4 separate regions of the Homo sapiens genome follow, and all the other regions are linked to region 2. Evidence: promoter capture Hi-C in 16 types of primary human blood cells and fetal thymus (Javierre and others, 2016). All regions are on one chromosome and are shown on one strand. Each heading gives the region's core, a stretch centred on a gene start or on the middle of the fragment in contact. The rest is flanking DNA. Distances are from core to core; before and after follow the strand shown.

Region 1 (5,859 bases), core at 2,159-4,658, 150 kb before region 2:
CTAATATCTCCAGGCTTTTAGTGAGACCTGCTCTGCCTGGGCCTTATCATTACTGTATTGGAAGAATGAGGACTGGTGGTTTCTAACAGAGGGGAAAGCAGGTAAGTAAGAAGTGAAGGCAGTCCCAGGAGACGGCATGAAGGTGAGGAGAGAATGACAATGGAGACAAAGGCAGGGACACAGGTCAACACAGGCACAGCAGAAGAACTATATCCTAGAGGAAGGTGACCCTCAAAGGGAGAAGGCAGACACTTGGGTAACATGTATACATCTAGCTTTCTTTCTGCTTTTTAAAAAATTTATTGCCATAAAGACATGGAATCAACCTAGGTGCCCATCAATGTGGACTGAATAAAGAAAATGTTGTACACAGACACCATGGAATACTACCCAGCCATAAAAAAAACACAAAATCATGTCCTTTGCAGCAACATGGCTGCAGCTTGAGGCCATTATCCCAAGTGAATGAATGCAGGAACAAAAAACCAAATACCACATGTTCTTACTTATAAGTGGGAGCTAAACATTGGGTACACATGGATATAAAGATGGGAACAATAGACAATGGGGACTCCAAAAAGGGGTAGGGAGGGAGGAAGGGAGGGAGACAAGGGTTGAAAAACTATTGGATGCCATGTTCACTATTTGGGTGACAGAATCAACAGAAGCTCAAACCTCAGCATCATCACTCAATATACTCATGTAGGAAACCTGCACATCTACCTCTTGAATATAAAAAAAATTTTTTTTTTTTGAGACGGAGTCCCACTCTGTCACCCAGGCTAGAGTGCAGTGGCACGATCTCAGCTCACTGCAAGCTCTGCCTCCCGGGTTCATGCCATTCTCCCGCCTCAGCCTCCCAAGTAGCTGGGACTACAGGTGCCTGCCACCACGCCCGGCTAATTTTTTTGTATTTTTAGTACAGACGGGGTTTCACCGTGTTAGCCAGGATGGTCTCGATCTCCCACCTCGGCCTCCCGAAGTGCTGGGATTACAGGTGTGAGCCACCACGCCCAGCCCCAATAATTTTTAAAAAGAAGTCAGATTTAAGTACAAAAAAAATTAATGCTATAATGTACATAATTGAAATGAAGGCTAGTTTTTGATGACATAGGCTTACCTGAAGGGGGGTACTGTCCTTACATTTTGGTTTATACATTCCAAAAATGTCTGACCTTCCCAAATATCGCCTATATAGTTTCTAAATACCATAAAGTTTGCTAAAAATCCATAGCATAAGAATTAAGACGACCTGATGTGAGAGCAAAGTACTCAAAGGATCTTAATCTTAAAAAGGGAAAGCTTTAGAATCCAGGGAGTGAAAGGAGCTGAAGGCAAACATAGCCTCAAACCAGGGATCAAGGCTAAGAGAGGTTAAGAGTCTCATTCAAGGTCACGCAGTGGAGATGAAGCTCCAAGAGCCAGGTCTTCATTTAACTAATGCTGGGTTCTTTCAGCTATAGTCTGGCCTAAGAGTGTCCTTACTTGTCCTCTGAAAAAAAAAAATTTTTAATATTTCACTTTTGAGGTTCTCGATCATTTGAGACTAGAACTTCTGTAGGACAGTAAAGCCTTGTTTAATATTTTTTTAACCAAATTGTTTCCCCAGGAGTCTGTTCTGGTCCTTTGCTTGTCGCTCCCCTTTTCCATGTTTGATTCAAGCCTCTGGATTTATTTAGTCATGGCTGGAGTAAAGAGAGAGGGGAGGAGACGGCACAAGAACGTCTTTAATAACCATAAGATGGCTGGCCGCTAAATCCTTTTCAAGAATTGAAGCTTTTGCTGTCTCACTGCTTTTCAGTCAAATTACAGGGAATGATGTCTTGGATGATTAGGTCTGTGATGAAACTGGTTATAGAAGCTATTTCAGAACCCACAGTGGTTCCCACTTAAATCTAAACACGAAGACCTGCCACAGATACTCTATCTAAAACTATTTCAACGTGTTACGCTCTTCTGCACATGTCAATATTCTCTCCTTCGCAAAGCTAATCAATAACTAAAGAGAAAAAAAAGCAGATCTCGGTGAAAAAACATATTTGGCAATCCTTGGCTATATAAAATACCGCTTCAGTGCGGCATCCTTCGGTTGTATTTGCTGGCTTTGTTATCTGTGTAGGCTGTCCTCTGAACTATTTTTGTTCTCTGTGTTTACTTTTGAAATTGAATTTTTTTCATTCTAAAGTGCACCAAGGATGCCACTGTAGACAATCCAAGCTCATGCAGCATAGAGTTAAGATTTGATAACAATCTGGTTTCGTTTGACCATTGGAGGCCATCAAATCAGTTCTTTTAGTCGCAAATGACCATTTGTGGGTCCGAGGGGATCCCACATAGCTCTGAAAAATCAATCACGTTAACTGGAAAATAGGCAAACTCCCAAAGCCCTGTGTACGGTAAAGACCTCTCCCAGTTGTTTTTAACAGGTTTGAACTATTACCAATGAGTCACCACGGACTTTTGTCTTCATTCATTCCTTACTCTATGAAGACTTTTCCAAGGCAAACATTACATGCTATGATGTGGATCACAACAACAAAACAAAATAACCCGGTCGGGTGGTATTTTCCTTTGTTGTAATATCAATGTGTTTTTTAATTTACCACATGAAGAAAGCTACGGCAGGTACAGTATTTAGGAAATGCTAAGAAACTCGCTCCATAACACTTGAAGCAACCGGTTTCTGCCCTTGATGTACTACGGCTCTCCTTCCACACCCATGACCCCTGGGGAGAGAAACAAAATCAAAGGTAACCACATCCTACTTACTTTTGGCAAGTGGGATTACTCTCTATTGGAACCATTAATAACCCCTTTCCGGGGTTTTGTTTCCTGCCCTGAATTCACTGCAGATTGAGTATAATAAAGAGAGTAGAAAAGGGCAAGTAAACTCCTTTAATACCATGTCCGAAAGGCCGCTACACCCTGGAGAGTGAGCCAGTGTCTATGGTAACTAGCCCCCTCTCCAGCTGCGTGTGAAATGCTAGAAACAGAAATCTTTAGAAGTAAACAAAATAAGCTAAGAAATGTAGATGTGCTTTGTAAATGATAAAGCAGATAAATGTTTGTTGTCCCTGTTACTTTGGTAAATGTAAATGCAAACATTCTCAAATGCCCTTAGTGATGAACAAGACATTCACTTACAGGAGACCTAAAATGAGACCCAGGAACTGCTAATGCTGTCCTCTACCTGCTCAGGTTTCAGTTCTTCCTATGAAAGCCTCAGATTGCAGGGAAGTCTTTTTTTTTTTTTTTACTTTGGACATCCCCAGCTGGCGGAATGTGCTCATTTATAGGGCCCTCTGTGACTGAGGGGAGCCAAGGATAAAAGGAAAAATGGTATTCTCAAGTACGCAGATCGAGGAGGAAAATCCACCAACTTCTATGTGACCAGTAAGAGAGTAGTGGGAATATGCCAACAGTGTGGGGGTAAATCGTTTTTGGTGGGTGTTTTGGGAGGCGGGGGCAGAGTTTAATGTTTTTTTTTTTAATTTTTTACAAATACGCTAAAGATTCAGGCAGTGCTGCCAGCATTGGACGTCAGCCTGGGCCACATGGCTGCATACTCCTTTGCAACTGGCCCTGTGATGACAGAACTTTTCATCACACGTTTATTACTTACTACAACCCTGGCATTATCTTCAAAATAAAGAAACAAGCCATCTTTTCTCTGGCATGACTTCTGTTGTCACATGACCACTGCTGGATGCACCTTCCTTCTGAGCTCTGGCTCGCCTTACTGACCATGGCCATCACCACGTTACCCACACCAGCAGAAAGTTTCGCTGTCGCTTGATCTCATTCACAGAGATGACTACAGATTTTTCACTCCTGTGTGGTCAACACACTTGATCACATTTCCTACCAGAAGACCCAGGGAAACCCTGAATTTCACATAGAAGGACCCACCACATCCTCACACTTCAACATCTTCAGAAAGAGCATTGGTAAATATTTAATAATTGCTCTCTGGGGAAAAATGAATGCATATATAGATATACTGCATGTAGATGTTTGATACAAATCTTACCAATATAAAGGATCTATAGTACCCAATTTACAGATAATAACAAATTATACTCTTTATGATAAACTCCATATAGCCAATAGATCCTCACACAAGGCTTTGTTGATTTTTGCAAAATTCTTCTATCTGTACTCAATCTAGGGTTGGAATAGATAAATGAGTGTGGTTACAACATGAATGTTGGTTGATATTTTCCTTTACATTAACAAGAAAAAAGAAAGTGAGTTAATAAAGATGTATGTCAGTATTTTCACTTGCTCTTCAATGACATGAGTGATTGCTTGCTGTATCAGATGATAGTTTCAAATACCGGGAGAATTTCCTAAGCCTTTTTTTACTATTCACAATGTAATAGTTATGGACATGACACACGTTTAAGTTTAATATGCAATATTCACATCTTCTCCATCACTTTCTTAAGTCTAGGCAATCAACGAGACAATAAATCAAGCCCTGATTTGTACCATTTGCAGATTTCCAAGGTGCAAATATTCCCACCAGGGTTGATTCCAAGCTACCATTTTGATGTCATGGACTACAGAATTGGGAAGAAATGTGCAATAGCACACCGTGATATACTGTTTCCACCATACTGAAAAAATGGGTAGAAATAACCTCACAATCATAGAGAACAGTAAAAAGGTAGTAGAATAAATAGGAAGTAATGAGTTTCGAGAATTTATTGCCTTTTTCATGTAATTTACTTAATTGTAAATTTACACAATTTAATTTTTAAGAATGGCTGTGTTTAACAATTGGCTTGAAAATTTCCTGAAAATTTGACAATCAGCTCTCATGAGCTGGTATGAGCCACTCCAGGACACCACAGGAAAATGCCCAAAACACACCTGTGTTGGCTGGGAATTTTTGAGAGGCTGAGCATTTGAGGCATTCACATACCTGGGTTTTAGATTTTAGGGAAGTTGCCTAATTTTGAGCCTAAGTTCTTGAAGTGGTGGTTAGGATGTGGAGAAGCCCATCTGAGCTCCTGGCCAAGCTCCTGGCCAAGCTTTGACAGCTCCTCCTAGATGTCACTGTTAATCTTCATGTATGATCTTTCCAGTCCAACTAATTATACCTATTTTGTTTTGTTCTGAATATCACCCATTTGACAAGTAAGGTTACCAAACCTAGCACAGCCTTCTCCAAAGCACATCCTGAGCCTGAAGTCTGATCAGCTTGGTTCCACCAGGAACCAACCGTCAGCTGATAAATCACAGGAAGATGACTGGCCAGGGGAAGGCTGAAGGATACCTGAATAATTTCACGATAATCATCTGGAAGATACTTGATCTAGGAAGAGGAGGCAGGAAAAGAAAGATTGCTGGACCAGGTTTGAATGCAATAATATGCCTGGTGAGAAGAGGGAGGAGACGGTGAGCAGTCACATGGGTTGGTACCCAGATCCTTAATTTAGTGTTTGGTGAAATCTTGCTACCACTCCTTTGCCCCCATGGCTTAGGGGAAATGCAAACATCAAAATTACCTAAAGTCAGAGGTATCTTATTTGGTGCACTTGAAAGTTGACATGGTTCTCCTGTAAGGTCCAATCACCCTTGGGTCAGAAAAGCGTTGAAGTAGAGAGCTAGTTGCACACAACTTGGGGAAATTCTCCTGATATTTCCTACATTTTCAAAGAATATGAACATCTGAACACCCAACAAGAGGGAAAGAAGCATCATGATGAAAAGTCTGCTAAGAGTAAGTAGAGCCAGAGAGATCAAGGTTAAAATCTCTGCTTCCCCACTTACTAGCTGTGTGACCTTCAGTGAGCTTCCTTAATGGTAACATGGGAATAATCGTTTTACTTACATTTTAGAGTCATCTGCAGA
Region 2 (5,957 bases), core at 834-3,333:
AGAGTTTGGGGGAGGAATGGGAGGGACCATCTGGCTCCCAACCCTGTCTACCCACCCATTGCAGGGGGAGGCTGCAGAACACAAGTCTTGCACTACCTCTGCTCAACCTGGAACCCCAGCCCCCAAGACTCATTTGCCCCCACTGGTCCCACTCACCTACAATTCTCCTGGAGGCTTTCTTTGGGCCCCCAGCCCATAGAGCTCACTCTCCTCTCTGAAGTTCTGTAACTCTTGCTGCAAAGCCACTGGTCACTTACTCCCATTATACTGGGCCACTAGCCCATCTGGCACCTTTATGCATATTAGAAAAAGGTGTGCCTTTCTCTAGGCAAAGCAGCTTTGTGCCAAGGCCCAGAGTTTGTCAGAGCATGAGCTGGACTTTAGCCCCCACTTGCCCACTCAGCTGAGCTCCCTTATTTAGTACCCGTCCTGTACAAGTATTCACAGCAGCTCTGATTACCGGAGCCTGCCTTGTAGGCTGGATGGATGTGTGTGACCACCATCCAGCCCACTCTAATATGTATCCCAGGTGTAAATGCTCCAGGGAGTCTCCTCCCTGTCAGACAATATGCCCTGTGGTAAGGGACCATGTGTAATAACCCTGCTAAGTGTTTTCAGTGGCTACCTAGCACAGTTAGCCAAACACATCCTCACAATAGCTACAATTTATTGAATGCTTACTAATTCTTACAACACTACATGAGACAAATATTGTGATCATTGTTCAGATGAGAAAACTGAGGCTCAGACAGATTAATGTGCCCAAGACATCACAATTAGTAACTGCAAAGCTAAGTAAATTCACACTCAGGTGTGCCTAATCCAAAAACCTGTTTTTCCTATAATCTAGAGTCTAGACAATCTATAAATGTGTGGGATGAAAGAAAAGGAAGAATTATTCATGATGGTAGAGGGATTCAGAGAAGACTTGGGGGCCCAGAAAAAGAACTCGGGGAAACACTGGGGAGCCCAGGTGAGGGATGAGATGGGGATCTCACCGAAGAAGCAGTAGACGACTCCAAACAAACAGCACATGATGCAGACGAGGGCCGGCAGTGCCTGGTACCTGCGCTCCAGGGGCTGTTCACAAGGTGCACCCCAGAAGGCATCATCTGGCTCAGGGGGCAGCAGCTGGAACCGCAGTGTTGCCACAGTCCCCGGCATAGTGCTGGGAATAGAAGGGAGTCACCCTCCCAAGTTAACCTGACAGAGGGAAAGTTGGGGTCACGGAGGAGTCCTGGGTCCCCACCAGGATGGGGGTGGGAGAGGGATTGGGAGAACTCAGCAAGGACAGTGGACAAAGGAATAGTATCCACATTTGTGCAGCTCCGGAAGCATCTCTGGAGTGGGGAGCAAAGACAAAGGGAAACAAAAGTGCCTGGCTAGTGGAGGCTGGGATGAAGTTAAAAGAGGGACGGGAGTCGGGGGGATGAAGGGAGCGTGCTGCCAGTGAGAAGGAGGCAGCCAAGAGATTCATCTGTGGGCGGCTCAATATGGGATTGTCCAAGATTTACCTGGGCTGGAGGCGACCTGAGCTTCTGAGTGAAAGAGGCTGTGCAGAGGCCCGAGGGGCCGGGGTTGCGGGGCGCCAGAGGCTCCAACTGACTGGGGTCCAGGGAAAGTCCGTCGTGCGAGGAAGGGGGCTGCTGGGCCGGAGAGAATGGTGTCGGCGCGGTGGCGGCGCCGCTCCACGTCCAACACCGGCTGGCACTCCAGTCCCGCGGCGTCCGGGAACTCGGGCTGGGCCTGAGGAAGGGGAAGGCGCAGGAGCCGGGGCTCGGGCCGCCCCAGAACCGCGGCCCCATGCCCTGAGCCCGCCCGCGGCCTTTGGTGCTGATGGACAGCTCCGGCCTCTGCTCCTGACGTCACTCAGGGCGCACCATCCAGGCAGGGGCGGGCTGCTTCTGACGTCACATGGGACGCACCAACCACGCCGCGGGAGGCAGGGGACTCCGCCCCCGGCGTCTCCCTCTCCCGCACTGAGGAGGGGGCACTTCCGGGGGTCCTTCCCCTTTAACCTCCCCCTTCTCCTCCCTCTCCGGTAGCGAGAGCCCGAGACCCCACCCCGGGGGCGGGGCCCTTGCAGTGACACGTCGGACAGCTGCGGCCGCGGCTGAGGCTCCAGTGCCGAGCGCAAGAACCCTGCGCAGCCCAGAGCAGCTGCTGGAGGGGAATCGAGGCGCGGCTCCGGGGATTCGGCTCGGGCCGCTGGCTCTGCTCTGCGGGGAGGGAGCGGGCCCGCCCGCGGGGCCCGAGCCCTCCGGATCCGCCCCCTCCCCGGTCCCGCCCCCTCGGAGACTCCTCTGGCTGCTCTGGGGGTTCGCCGGGGCCGGGGACCCGCGGTCCGGGCGCCATGCGGGCATCGCTGCTGCTGTCGGTGCTGCGGCCCGCAGGGCCCGTGGCCGTGGGCATCTCCCTGGGCTTCACCCTGAGCCTGCTCAGCGTCACCTGGGTGGAGGAGCCGTGCGGCCCAGGCCCGCCCCAACCTGGAGACTCTGAGCTGCCGCCGCGCGGCAACACCAACGCGGCGCGCCGGCCCAACTCGGTGCAGCCCGGAGCGGAGCGCGAGAAGCCCGGGGCCGGCGAAGGCGCCGGGGAGAATTGGGAGCCGCGCGTCTTGCCCTACCACCCTGCACAGCCCGGCCAGGCCGCCAAAAAGGCCGTCAGGTAGTGATCGGCTGCGCCCGCTCTACCCCCTGGGCAGCGGCCGGGAAGCGCGCGGGGAGGTCGCCCGGGCCCGGGTCAGGCTCCGGAAGGAAGGGGCTGGCGAGCCAGGAAGTCTTTGGGCCCCGATAACTTCCGATGGCCCTGCCTTCCCGAGAGCCGTGGGGCCAGTCCGAGACTTTCTCTGGGCCCTATCCCGGCCTGGGCTGAACTTACTGGACTGTGTCCTAAACCGGCTCGACCCGATGGCGCCCCAGAGATCCTACTAGCTCCCTGGCTGGGCTGCTGGTGTTAGAGAAATGACTTATATATAGGGTGAGTGTATAGAGACAGGGGAAGAGAAAGGAGAGAACTAGGATTTACCTGGATCTCTTGTTCCTGAGTGGGTTACAAGGGCCACCTCAGGGTGAGATGGGGGAGGGAGGAATGTACCTATCTCATTAATGTCTCTGCTGATGAGTTGAAATAACTTCTAAGTAACATTGGGTTCAAATGCTGGTTCTGCAATTTACCTTCTGCCTTACCAAAAGGTAAGTTCCTAGAGCCCCTGAGTGCAGTTTGCCCCTCCCCGCAAAAACACTCAGTACACCCCTATGCCAAACGTTCCTTTATGTCATTTATGTGAGGCATTTGTGGCATAATGGCATATTTATATAGAAATGAGTAGATACATGGTGTGTCCAGCGTTTGGCTGGGTGCTTTAAACAGATATAATCAGTCCCATTTTACAGATGGCTCAGGTTAAATAACATGCTCAAGGACATAACTACTAAGTAGCGAACCCCGGAGTCAGACCCACAATATCTCTCTCCTATCTGGGTGGGTATTGCCATCTCCCAAATGCAAAGCACTACCTGTTTAAGACCATTTCGTTTAAATCCTCATGACCCCTGGGAGAGAGGGTTTATTTTTAACCTATTCATAGGTGAGAGAACAGATACAGAGAAGACGTGACCTGCCAGGGTCTGTGCTGACCACCTCCCCCCCACCCCCCGCCCCGTTGTCCTTTTGATAAGCTTGTGCCATCTCCTCCCCTAGGACCCGCTACATCAGCACGGAGCTGGGCATCAGGCAGAGGCTGCTGGTGGCGGTGCTGACCTCTCAGACCACGCTGCCCACGCTGGGCGTGGCCGTGAACCGCACGCTGGGGCACCGGCTGGAGCGTGTGGTGTTCCTGACGGGCGCACGGGGCCGCCGGGCCCCACCTGGCATGGCAGTGGTGACGCTAGGCGAGGAGCGACCCATTGGACACCTGCACCTGGCGCTGCGCCACCTGCTGGAGCAGCACGGCGACGACTTTGACTGGTTCTTCCTGGTGCCTGACACCACCTACACCGAGGCGCACGGCCTGGCACGCCTAACTGGCCACCTCAGCCTGGCCTCCGCCGCCCACCTGTACCTGGGCCGGCCCCAGGACTTCATCGGCGGAGAGCCCACCCCCGGCCGCTACTGCCACGGAGGCTTTGGGGTGCTGCTGTCGCGCATGCTGCTGCAACAACTGCGCCCCCACCTGGAAGGCTGCCGCAACGACATCGTCAGTGCGCGCCCTGACGAGTGGCTGGGTCGCTGCATTCTCGATGCCACCGGGGTGGGCTGCACTGGTGACCACGAGGTGGGATGATAAGCTATCCCACTGATACCTCCTTGTCATGTTCAAATCCCTCTGAGAGGCAAAGGGATGTTGGAGATACAGGTCTGCTTTTCCATGCCAATTCGGACATTTATTTTCTATCTCTGTGACCCCCAGTAAATTACTAAATATCCTGGGCTTCAGTATCTTCCTTTGTGCCAATGGAAATAATTATTGCTCGGGGTTGTTACAAGGATTAGAAAAAATCAGGGAGCCTTGTACATAATAGGCATTTGATGTTAGTTATTATTTTAGCCCTTGGACAGCTCTGAGACAGGACGCATGCCCATTTCGCAGATGAGCTAGCGGAGGCATGCTGAAGGTCACACAGACTCACAACTGGTCAAGGTAGACTTAAACCCTCAGACTGCAAGTCCACAACAGGTCATAGGCTGAGGAGATGAGACACTTACTATGAGACAACGGAAGACAATGCCAGCTCATCACAGATCCCTTCCCTTCCTCTCCCCAGGGGGTGCACTATAGCCATCTGGAGCTGAGCCCTGGGGAGCCAGTGCAGGAGGGGGACCCTCATTTCCGAAGTGCCCTGACAGCCCACCCTGTGCGTGACCCTGTGCACATGTACCAGCTGCACAAAGCTTTCGCCCGAGCTGAACTGGAACGCACGTACCAGGAGATCCAGGAGTTACAGGTATGGTCTAGGTCTGGGGGTGGCAGAGTGACGGGGACAGGATCTGAGAAGTCACAGAGAGCCCAGAGAAATGACAAGTTAGCACTAGAATCACAGAACAAAACTACTTCCCAGCCCCTGCCTGTTTCTACATTCTCTGATGAGCCTCTTGGCTGTCTATGCTGGGGAAATGATAGGTATGGGCAGAGGTTGGCAGGGGATGAGGGGCCCATCCTGAGTGGCACCTACTGCCTACCCAGTCCCCCAGCTGTGTGCTGCTCCCTGTAATCTGTCCCTTGCTGATGGCCTGTTTCTCTGATCCAGTGGGAGATCCAGAATACCAGCCATCTGGCCGTTGATGGGGACCAGGCAGCTGCTTGGCCCGTGGGTATTCCAGCACCATCCCGCCCGGCCTCCCGCTTTGAGGTGCTGCGCTGGGACTACTTCACGGAGCAGCACGCTTTCTCCTGCGCCGATGGCTCACCCCGCTGCCCACTGCGTGGGGCTGACCGGGCTGATGTGGCCGATGTTCTGGGGACAGCTCTAGAGGAGCTGAACCGCCGCTACCACCCGGCCTTGCGGCTCCAGAAGCAGCAGCTGGTGAATGGCTACCGACGCTTTGATCCGGCCCGGGGTATGGAATACACGCTGGACTTGCAGCTGGAGGCACTGACCCCCCAGGGAGGCCGCCGGCCCCTCACTCGCCGAGTGCAGCTGCTCCGGCCGCTGAGCCGCGTGGAGATCTTGCCTGTGCCCTATGTCACTGAGGCCTCACGTCTCACTGTGCTGCTGCCTCTAGCTGCGGCTGAGCGTGACCTGGCCCCTGGCTTCTTGGAGGCCTTTGCCACTGCAGCACTGGAGCCTGGTGATGCTGCGGCAGCCCTGACCCTGCTGCTACTGTATGAGCCGCGCCAGGCCCAGCGCGTGGCCCATGCAGATGTCTTCGCACCTGTCAAGGCCCACGTGGCAGAGCTGGAGCGGCGTTTCCCCGGTGCCCGGGTGCCATGGCTCAGTGTGCAGACAGCCGCACCC
Region 3 (5,688 bases), core at 1,278-3,777, 130 kb before region 2:
CCAATGGGAAGATCAACCATTACAATGACGGTCAGCTCCACCACCATTGATGGAGCCCTCTCCAAGGGCCGAACACAGTGCTCACCATGTCATTCACTTTAGAATCTCAGGGAATCCTCCCAACAATGATGGGAAGGGCACCATTATTATACCCTGTTATCCAGAGAAGGAAACCGATTCTCAGAGAGGTTAAGCAATTTTCTCAAGGTCATATAACTAATGAATAACACAGCTGGCTCAAACTCAGACCTGTCTGATTCTAAAGCCCACCCCCCATACCATGACACACCATACAACAAGAGTTTGTAACCTGGAGTCCATGGATAGGATTTAGGTGTCTTTGAACTTAGATGGGGAAACAACGATACCAGAATTACATCTCTATTCAGTGGCATATGGGGGTGAGGAAGACAAGCAATGGGAACCTTTGGCCCCCTGCAGGGATGTATTTTGTCACTGACAATCTTTTTTGTTGTTTTTTTTTTTTTTTTTTTTTTTTGTGGAGTTTCACTCTTGTTGCCCGATCTTGTTGAATCTCCGCCTCCTGGGTTCAAGTGATTCTCCTGTCTCAGCCTCCTAAGTAGCTGGGATTACAGGCATGCGCCACCACACCCAGCTAATTTTGTATTTTTAGTGCAGACGGGGTTTCTCCATGATGGTCAGGCTGGTCTCGAACTCCCAACCTCAGGTGATCCGCCAGCCTCCATCTCCCAAAGTGCTGGAATTACAGGCATAAGCCCCTGCGCCTGGCCACTGACAATCTTGAAAGCCAATGGTACATAGTGATAATAAAATCAAGACTGGCCAGATGTGGTGGATCACACCTGTAATCCCAGCACTTTCAAAGGCTAAGCAGAAGGATCACTTGAGCCCAGGAGTTTGAAACCAGCCTGGGCAACATGGTGAAACCCTGTCTCTACAAAAATTACAAAAATTAGCTAGGCATGGTCGCATGTGCCTGTAGTTCCAGCTACTCGGAAGGCTGAGGTGGGAAGGTCACTTAAGCCTGAGAGGCTGAGGTTGCAGCGAGCCGAGATTGCACCATTGCACTCCAGCCTAGGTGACAAAGTGAGACTCTGTCTCAAAAAAATAAAAAATAAAAGACGGCAAGACCAACTTCAATTTTTTCATTGTTTTTAAATTTATTACAAACCATGGACCCCTTTCTGCCTGCATTAACCTCTAATTAAAATTTAGCATTTCTCTCAATTAGAATGTAGGCACTCACATGGAGGTATTAACATACCTGTGACTTTGTCACCAACAGAACCACAGATATTTCATGTCACACTACAGTTGTTGCAGTGTCTAAAATATATAGTTTATACTCATAACTACTTCAATATTAGGGTGATTATAAAACTATTGCTAGGTTTTATTATTTAATGGGCTAATACAAAAGATAAACTGTTACTACATTCACAAATTTGATTTTGTTTGGTTTTTTAGTGTTTGGACAGCCATATTACAATATGATCAGCTTCCTTTATAATCTTATGTATTATAAAAAGAGGTCCCTGGCCAGGCTCGGTGGCTCACGCCTGTAATCCCAGCACTTTGGGAGGCCAAGGCAGGCGGATCACAAGGTCAGGAGTTCAATACCAGCCTGGCCAAGATGGTGAAACCCCGTCTCTACTAAAAATATTAAAAAAATAGCCGGGCATGGGAGCAGGCGCCTGTAATCCCAGCTACTCAGGAAGCTGAGGCAGAGAATTGCTTGAACCCAGGAGGCAGAGGTTGCAGAAAGCCAAGATCACACCACTGCACTCCAGCCTGGGCGACAAAGTGAGACTCTGTCTCAAAAAAAAAAAAGAGGTCCCTAAACTCCAACAGACAGACACACACAGAAAATGAAGAGTACCTGCTACCCACTCTCTTAGATAAGAGTGCTATATAAATGCTGGAAATATTATAATCTTTGTACTATTTTACTTTACATGTTTGTGGCTCTTGAGAGAATGGACTGAGTCATATAGTTCTTCCTTTCCTCCACAAGCCTTTAGAAAGCATAATCACTCAACCACTACTTATTGATTCCCTGGCTGGCAGAAATCCCTCAAGCTTCCGTAAACTCAGTATCACACTCAGTGACCAGGAGATAAACAATATGGCAGGAGGAAGAAAGGTATTGAGATCAAACCTTCCAGATGGTTGGCAAACCCTGTGCATGGGGTGCTGGAACTTGCTTCTTAGAGAATAAATACATCTGTAGAGAAAAAGGTCCATTGGAATTTTCCATCAAGGCTGATAGGGTACGGCAGAGTGCCCAAATGTCATGGGAAGCGAAGCAGACTCCAAGCTGGGAAAACGCTCCTGGACAAGATGGCATCGTTTTTATATGCATTAGAAGCCCTTACGAAATAATATCAGATGTCCCGGGATCCCAGTTCCCTGCAAAGAACCCCACTCTACCCAGAACATCACACAACTCCTGACTCTCTGGCACTAGAAAGCTGAAGGGGGTTCTGGGACCCTCGGTTATAGCTGACATCAAGAGACTCTGACTGTTTCCGTCATCTTTGTTGTATCCCCAAGACTTTGTGACAGAAAACAACCACCATTTTATTTTGTTCCTAATTCCTGTGGGGATTCAGGTACAGTGGGGATGGTTCTTCTCTTCTCCACGATGTCTGGGGCTTCCAAGGTGGCTTCTGCACTCACAGGTCTAGTGCCTGGGCTGGGATGGCCTAAGGACTAGCCAGAACACCTATACATGGCCTCTCCACGTGGATTCGGCTTTTCACAACATGGCAGTTGAGTTAGAGAGAAGGCTTTCTGAGAAGGGGTCTCTAGAAAGCAAACACTATCAGAGCACCAAGGGGAAGCCACATGGCCTTTTCAGTCTTAGCCCTTCCACCATACTCTATTGGCCAAAGCAGAATCAAGAGGAAAGGTCATAGACTCCATCCCAGATAGGAAAAGTGCCAAAGAATCTAGGAGCTATGTTTTACAACCACCACACTGGCCAAGTGAATTCCTTGCTTCCAAGCTTAGAGATAATATCTAGAGTCCCCAGGGGGCTAAACATGGACTGGTCTCTAACTTGGGTGGGAGAAGAGCAGGTGCTGGGGACTCCAGCAAACTCCTCACAGTTGATTCTCAAGAGTGTGTTTGCCCTGCCCCAAGAGAGATGCCCAGAGGAGGCTCAGCCCACAGGCAGCCCTTCACAAATGAAAAGAACCCTCTTGTCACTATTACCCACCACCCCACCTTAACTGCTATTCCTCCTGAACATCTTTTCCCCTCCAAATTACCCTCCAGCAAAAAACCTGCTCCCACAAAGCACGCTGTGCATGCCAGTGTGTCTCATTGTTCCTCTATTAAGACACATCATTCACAAACACTACGCTTCTTAAAAGATACCCTCAGCTGTCACTTACATAACAGAACTTGGCAAAAACAGATGGAGCATGCCAGCGGTGTCTTTGCCTGGGGCAGTATATGCTAATATCTTGGCACAGGCACCTTGAGCTGCTTTTTTTTCCCAGCAAAGTTCCATCAGCTGGAAAGTTCGAAGGGGAGAGCAAGATCATAGAAAAGTCAGTAGAGGAAGCTGTTCCTTTTTTACCTTTGGAAAATAAAACTACCTTTTCATCAATCAAATAGTGGGAAAAATCTGTAGAGCTACTCCCCAAAACTCAGGAGAAAGGAGGAAGCTTGATGCTACCTAAAGAAAGGTATGACACACAAAAAGAAGGGACATTCGACCCAGGATGTAGGAGAAAAGGGCATTTCGGAGAGAAGGAATGACAGGCACAAAGATGGGGAGGCAGGAATGTGCCTGACTTGTTCCCAGAGCATTGAAATAGCTGGTCTACCTAGAGTGGAGGGTTTGGGCTTGGGAGTTGTAGGGGCCATTTATTATTTCGCCTTCCCAGAACAACACCCCCGCTTCATTTGGGAAAGAGCTCTACTTCCATTTGGTTCTCTATAGCCCTGGCTGGGCTAATCCTAGAGACTGATCCCTTTGACATCAGTAATTGGCCCAGGGATAGGCAAACGACCAGGCCAATCTGAGCCCATTCCAGCCCAACTGGAGTGAGTGGGAAGAGCTCTTTTCTCTCTGCTCTCAAGAGGAGGGGCAGGAGAATGCACAGGGCTAAAAGCCCAAGCTCTTCAATCAGAGTTGACTCCAGATCCCAAAGTTCTTTACCAGCTTTGTGAACTTGGGAAGGGTCCTCACTGAGGCTCCATTTCTTCATCTGTAAAATGGGGATAACAAGACCCACCTCATAGGTTCATGTCATGGATTAAATGAGATAAGCAATTCAGGTGCTTAGAATTAAGATGGCAGCCCCAGAGCTGCCCACACCGTGGTACCAACTTTAGGGTACTGGCCAGCCTGAGAGTTAAGTCAGTCCTCAAAGGAAGCAGGGATGAGAGTAAGTTAAGCAACAACCCAGGCTTCCTGCAGCTTGGTGATAGGAGTCAATGAATTTGCCTTTTCCAAATGTAAGCTGGCTTGAGTTTGATTTCTGTTCATGGCACCTAATAGTGCTTGAGTTGTATTTTTTAATGCAAAAATATACTTAGAAATACATCCACAGTGTATTTCTCTAATTATAAAATCCATCCATTGAAATAATCCTAGAGTTTTGTAACCATTCCTTTCTTGGTTTTCCTTTCCCTAAAATCAACTTGCTAAGCTCCCAAGACTACAAGTCAAGCTGGAGGAAGCACCAGGAAGGAGGAGGGACGATGGGACAGGGATATGAGTTGTGGACGTGGAGGAGAGGATTAAACAGTCCACCAGCCTTGTGGACCCCCAATTCTAAGGATCCTCTGAGCCCCTGACCTTCACTCCCCAGAACCAGTGAGAGCCCAGGTCAGAACTCAGGTTCAATATCCCAAATCATAAACAAAATCAGAGAAGCAGAATTCTCAGAAGAAACCAAATGGAAAACCCAAGAAGACAGGAAATGTCCATGTTCAGCACTGAAACTCACCATTGCCATGGGAGAATAAAAGTCATAAACATAACAGAGAAGATAATATTATAATTATTTGCAACTAGTTTTGACTCTACACCTGGAAAACCAAAGAGAATAGAGTTAAAACAAAAACAAAAACAAAACTGTTAAAATCAATAGGATAATTCGATAAGATGGCTAGCTATAAAAATGTATGTATGAGAGTCAATAGCTTGCTACATACACACAACTGATTGGAAAATAAAATGAAAGAAAAAAATCCCATTTAAAAAGCCGCAATCAGCTGGGAGCTGTGGCTCACACCTGTAATCCCAGCACTTTGGGAGGCTGAGGTGGGCGGATCACCTGAGGTCAGGAGTTCAAGACCAGCCTGGCCAACATGACAAAACCCTGTCTCTACTAAAAATACAAAAATTAGCTGGGCGTGGTGGCAGACACCTGTAATCCCAGCTACTCGAAAAGCTGAGGCACGAGAATCGCTTGAACACAGGAGGTGGAGGATGCAGTGAGCAAAGATCGCACCACTGCACTCCAGCCTGGGCAACAAAGCAAGACACTGTCTCAAAAAAAAAAGGTAGCAATTCAAAAAAGTAAAAACAAACAAAAAGGCTACATACAGATACACCTAATAAGAAATGTACGGAATCTACATGAAGAAAAAATGTTTAATTTTTTTTTTTCTCCTAGACAGGGTCTTACTTTATTGCCCAGGCTGGAATGCAGAGGCATGATCTCAGCTCACTGCAGCCTTTACTAC
Region 4 (5,226 bases), core at 2,276-4,775, 180 kb after region 2:
AATTGATGCAGAAAAAGCATTTGGTACAATCCCAAACCCTTTCATAATAAAAATATTCAACATTCAGAAATAGAAAAGAGCTTGCTCAACCTGATAAAGGCATCTATGAAAAACCCACGGCTGGCTAGGCACAGTGGCTCCCGCCTGTAATCCCAGCACTTTGGGAGGCCGAGGCGGGCGGATCACCTGAGGTCAGGAATTGGAGACCAGACTGGCCAACATGGCGAAACCCCATCTCTACTAAAAATACAAAAATTAGCTGGGTATGGTGGCATGTGCCTGTAATTCCAGCTACTAGGGAGGCTGAGGCAGGAGAATCGCTTGAACCCGGAAGGTGGAGTTTGCAGTGGGCCGATATCGCGCCACTGCACTCCAGCTTGGGTGACAGAGCAAGACTCGGTCTCAAATAATAATAATAATAATAATTTCTTCATACCTTGCATACTTTGCATACAAAGTTGTTTCCCTCCATCCTATGATGTCTAATTGTTTTATTTATGTATACTTATTATAAGTTTTAACCCTTAGTGACCCTAATTTGCTGTGAAAACTAGGAAGCAGGCAATTGTGAACTGCCTGTCATATATCGGCATCTTGTAGTAGATTAGTAAATTTATGAATATACTATTTTATAATTTCAGGAACATATGCTTCCTAATATAGTACAGTCTTTCAGTGTGGCAAAGAACATGCTTATTAGTAGACCCAAATATATTTAGCTTCTCTATATCATATAAAAATAAGATGCCAGAAGTATATACGCTTAAATTTATGCTTAGTAGTTAATGTTTCAGTAGTTTATCTTACTTACAAATGGTTCAGACATTTAATGAATATCTACTGCTTAATTTAACCTAACTTTAAGTTTGCAAGTTACCAAATAAGATTTGGAAACTGATTCAGGCAGACATACTGTAACATCAAACAAAGCTAGCCATCATCTCAAGTTATTTTTCTTGTTGACAAATCAGGTAAGTGTAAAAAATGGCCAGGCATGGTGGCTTACGCCTATAATCCCAGCACTTTGGCATGCCGAAGTGGACAGATCCCTTGAGCCCAGGAGTTCGAGACCAGCTTAGGCAACATGGCCAAACCCCATCTATACAAAAATTGTCTGTCCATGGTGGCATTCTCCTGAAGTTTTAGCTACTTGGGAGGCTGAGGTGGTAAGAATTGCTCGAGCCTGGGAGGTTGAGGCTGCAATGAGCCATAATCATGCCATTGTACTCCAGCCTGGGCAACAAAGCTAAACCCTGTTTAAAAAAAAATAACAGAAGCAAAAAACCTAAAAATTTAAATATATGGTTCTTCTCTGTCTTTTTTTAAAAACTGCTATGCTTGATATGCATCAAGCAATTTATTTTTATTGTATATTTTATTCTTAGTTTAGATTTATAGTTTTATAACCTTAAACATCTAGTTGATATAACATTGTTTGACCAGTAAACCCAGGTAAAATAAAATTGTAGTTCTGCATTCTATTTAATGCTGACAACTCCAAAGACATTTCTGCTTTTATTTTATCAACAATTTTTTTTTTTTTTTTTTTTTTTTTTTTTTTTTTTTTTTACAGAGCCTGGCTCTGTCACCCAGGCTGGAGTGCAATGGAATGGAGCCATCTTGGCTTACTGCAACCTCCGCCTCCTGAGTTCAAGTGATTCTCCTGCCTCAGCCTCCTGAGTAGCTGGGATTACAGGTGTGTACCACCACGCCCAGCTAATTTTTGTATTTTTAGTAGAGGCGGAGTTTCACCATGTTGGTCAGGCTGGTCTTGAACTCCTGACCTTGTGATCAACCTGCCTCGGCCTCCCAAAGTGCTAGGATTACAGGCGTGAGCCACTGTACCTGGCTTTTTTTTTTTTTAATCTATATAAACAAGGTCTCACTCTGCTGCCCAGACTGGATTGCAGTGGTGTGAACACAGCTCACTGCAGCCTTGAACTTCTAAGCTCAAGGGATTCACCTGCCTCAGCCTCCCAACTAGCTGGGATTACAGGCGCCTGCCACCACGCCAGTCTAATTTTTTGTATTTTTAGTAGAGGCGGGGTTTCACCATGTTGGCCAGGCTTATCTTGAACTCCTGACCTCAAGTGATCCACCCACCTCGGCCTCCCAAAGTGCGGGGATTACAGGCGTGAGCCCCTAAGCCCGGCCTACTTTTTAAACTTTTTGTAAAGACCAAGTCTCAGTATGTTGTCCAAGCTGGTTTCAAACTCCTGGGCGCAAGTAATGCTCCTGTCTCAGCCTCCCAAAGCACTGGGATTAGGGGTGTGAGCCACTGCGCCCAGCCTGCCAACAATCTTAAAACTAATTTTATTTACCCAAAAGACTTAACAAGGCCCATGTGTTCAGATTCCTGTCTGTGTCCCCATCTTTGGAGGAAGGACACCTTTCACATGGGGAAAGGATCAGGGAGATCCCTTCAGGAGAGAAGGATCAGGGAAGTCAGAGAGATTGTCCTGCACATGCTGTTTCTCAGATCCTTCCAGCTTAAAATATTCAACATGCCAGTGTGCCATGTTTCTGGGTGGCATGTCCTGAACCCTCTTATTGGATAGTATAAATGGCTATTCACTCTGAAAATCTGTTGAGCTGTATCTTTACATTCTGTCTACTTCTGTTCATATGTATTACCTTTCATAATCAAAAGGTAAAAATACTTTTTTTAAAAAAAAGCATAAAAGCTTCTAAACACAAAAGTTGGTGTCAGAAATATTCTAAATGGAAAGAGGAAAAGAGTGGCTCCTAAGATGACTGGATTATTAGAAGTAAAGAAATGCCCTCCCTTCTTGCCCAATAAACTCCAGAAGCTCCCAGAGTGGCCCTAGGCGAGAAGAGATGAGAGGGAGGGTCAGCCGTGCTCTCCAGGGAAATCCCCTTGTTTTCCCCAGGCCAGCCCCAAAGGGGCACTAGTCTACACTGAACTCTCAACTTCCAGGCAATAGAGACCACCCTTTCTCTGCTGCTTTATTTGACAGCTTAGGAAAGACTGAAATGTTCAAACAAAAATGAACAACAACAGAAAGCCTTGACAAAGGAAAGCCAGATGCAGAGGACCATGGATCCACATATCCTAAATGCAAGGGAGAGCCTGCTCTCCAGGCTCCAGAGCCTTCCACTCATGGGCTACCCCAGGAATAATAGGGACTCCTCCCTGAGTCTCCCCACTCCTGACTCCAGGCTTTCCTCCCACAGCAGGTGACATTCCTAAGTTTGTATGCATGTGCCAGCACACATTTATATATACAAGTGCAATATGTACATAGTAATGCACACACATATTCTCAAACCTACACACATACACCTCACACACATACATAAACGTAACATATATACACCTACACACACATAAACAGACACATGCGGACTTACACATGGACATCTATACAGAAACACACACATGTAAGCATACATGCACACACACAACACAGGTGCACATGCACATACAATGTTTGCAAACATATACAGCCACAGGCATAGACACACATATACACCTGGATACATATACAAACCCATCACACATGCATACATATGCTCATTCACATACTACAAATACATACAAAAAGGCATACACATATATGCACACATGCACAACATACAAACACAGAGACATGCATGTAGGCATAATACATGCATGCATACTCGTGCGCAAAAAACACACATGTGCAATACACAGATACATATACATAAATGCATGCATACACATATGCAGACAATACATAGATACATGTCACACAAACATATTGCTATATATCCATATATACATATGCAAAAACATACACATATATACACAAACACACACATCTTTATGTACACACCCACAAACACACACCCCACATACCCACACGCACATACTGCATGTGATAGCCATCCTACAAGATGACCTCCAGTGATCCTTACCTCTTGGAATTCATGCCTTTGTGTAGTCCCTCCCACAGTGTATCAGGGTTGGTCTCTGTGGCCAGTATAATATGGCAGAAATGATGGCATGGGACTTCCAAAGCTAGGTTTTAAAAACACTGTGGCTTTTGCCTGGTTCTCTCTCTCTCTCAGGTCACTCACTCCAGAGGAAGCCAGCTGCTGTGTCATGAGGCACTCAAGCAGCCATATGGAGAGGCTGATGTGGTAGGGAACTGAGACCTCCTGCCAACAGCCAGCATCGTCTTGCCAGGAGGGTGAGTCATCTTGAAAGTGGATCCTCTAGCCCCACGCAAGCCTTCAGAAGACTACAGCCAACCCTGAGTAACATCTTCACTGCAACTTCAAGAGAGACCCTGAACCAAAAATACCCAGCTAAGCCTCTCTCAGATTCCCAGTCCACAGAAACTGTGAAATAGATGTTTATAGTTTAAGCGACTAAGCTTTGGGGTAATTTGTCATGTAGCAATAAGCCATAGATATTCTTTGCTAAAACTGGATTTTTAAAAAAAGTAATAGACAATGAATACAAGTACACTACATGTACACATATACACATTGACACACACATCCCATCTACATACACAAATACATCTCCCACACATACAAACCTACATACGCACACACAAACACACATGCATACAGTACACATTGATTCATACAAACACATGCACACACATATAAACACATGGACACAACACCCATGCACAAACATATAAACACATGTATACACATATAAACACATGTACGCATGCGCAAGTCCCGAGAACCCACTTCTAGAGTCTTTGGGCTCTTCACCATCTAGATGCCCACCTGGGGCTCCCCATAGAGCTCTGACCCATCTCGGAGGAGCTGCCTCTTCTCTCTCTTTTTTTTTTTTTTTTTGAGATGGAGTTTTGCTCTGTCACCCAGGCTGGAATGCAGTGGCACAATCTCTGCTCACTGCAACCTCTGCCTCCCGGGTTCAAGCAATTCTTCTGCCTCAGCCTCCAGAGTAGCTGGGACTACAGGCACATGCCACCATGGCCAGCTAATTTTTGTACTTTTAGTAGAGACGGGGTTTCACCATGTTGGCCAGGCTGGTCTTGAACTCCTGACCTTGTGATCTACCCGCCTCGGCCTCCCAAAGTGCTGGGATTACAGGCGTGAGCCACCGTGCCTGGCCTGAGGAGCTGCCTCTTCTCTAGGAGATTCCCACCAGAGGTGATCCTGTCCTTGAGGGAAGACCTTGTTTCCCGACAAAGGGTGGTGGCCTGAGTCTTGCAGGCCTCAGTGCAATGATAGCACCATCCCCACTGGCTATCCAAG

The links. The method cuts DNA at HindIII sites, captures the fragments that hold promoters and counts their contacts. A CHiCAGO score of 5 or more calls a contact.
Region 1: a fragment that was not itself captured here is called in contact with the fragment with the promoter of CHPF in region 2 in 2 of 17 cell types (M2 macrophages and M0 macrophages); the score reaches 6.0 in M2 macrophages.
Region 3: a contact is called between a fragment that was not itself captured here and the fragment with the promoter of CHPF in region 2, in 3 of 17 cell types (M0 macrophages, M2 macrophages and M1 macrophages). The highest score is 8.3, in M0 macrophages.
Region 4: a contact is called between a fragment that was not itself captured here and the fragment with the promoter of CHPF in region 2, in 2 of 17 cell types (neutrophils and monocytes). The highest score is 5.7, in neutrophils.

The regions. Positions count from the first base shown.
Region 1 is chr2:219,695,870-219,701,728 of GRCh38, reverse strand. It overlaps the pseudogene RPL23P4. Among named protein-coding and RNA genes, the nearest start is that of LINC02832, 31 kb to the left of the region's middle. RefSeq lists an enhancer at 2,088-3,287. The HindIII fragment of the contact is 3,260 bases long and covers 1,779-5,038 here.
Region 2 is chr2:219,539,935-219,545,891 of GRCh38, reverse strand. It overlaps CHPF (chondroitin polymerizing factor), which reads left to right and starts at 2,083. Exons shown (of 4, transcript NM_024536.6): 1 at 2,083-2,667; 2 at 3,703-4,276; 3 at 4,767-4,946; 4 at 5,250-5,957. The coding sequence starts at 2,354. It overlaps TMEM198 (transmembrane protein 198), which reads right to left and starts at 1,864. Exons shown (of 5, transcript NM_001005209.3): 1 at 1,515-1,864; 2 at 999-1,203. The coding sequence starts at 1,164. RefSeq lists silencers at 1,662-1,801, 1,842-2,551, 2,562-2,651. The HindIII fragment of the contact is 11,388 bases long and covers 1-3,682 here.
Region 3 is chr2:219,673,093-219,678,780 of GRCh38, reverse strand. No RefSeq gene overlaps it. Among named protein-coding and RNA genes, the nearest start is that of SLC4A3, 48 kb to the right of the region's middle. The HindIII fragment of the contact is 928 bases long and covers 2,064-2,991 here.
Region 4 is chr2:219,361,636-219,366,861 of GRCh38, reverse strand. It overlaps LOC105373883 (a long non-coding RNA gene), which reads left to right. Exons shown (of 2, transcript XR_923917.3): 2 at 4,054-4,360. Among named protein-coding and RNA genes, the nearest start is that of DNPEP, 24 kb to the left of the region's middle. RefSeq lists an enhancer at 4,250-4,299. The HindIII fragment of the contact is 1,677 bases long and covers 2,687-4,363 here.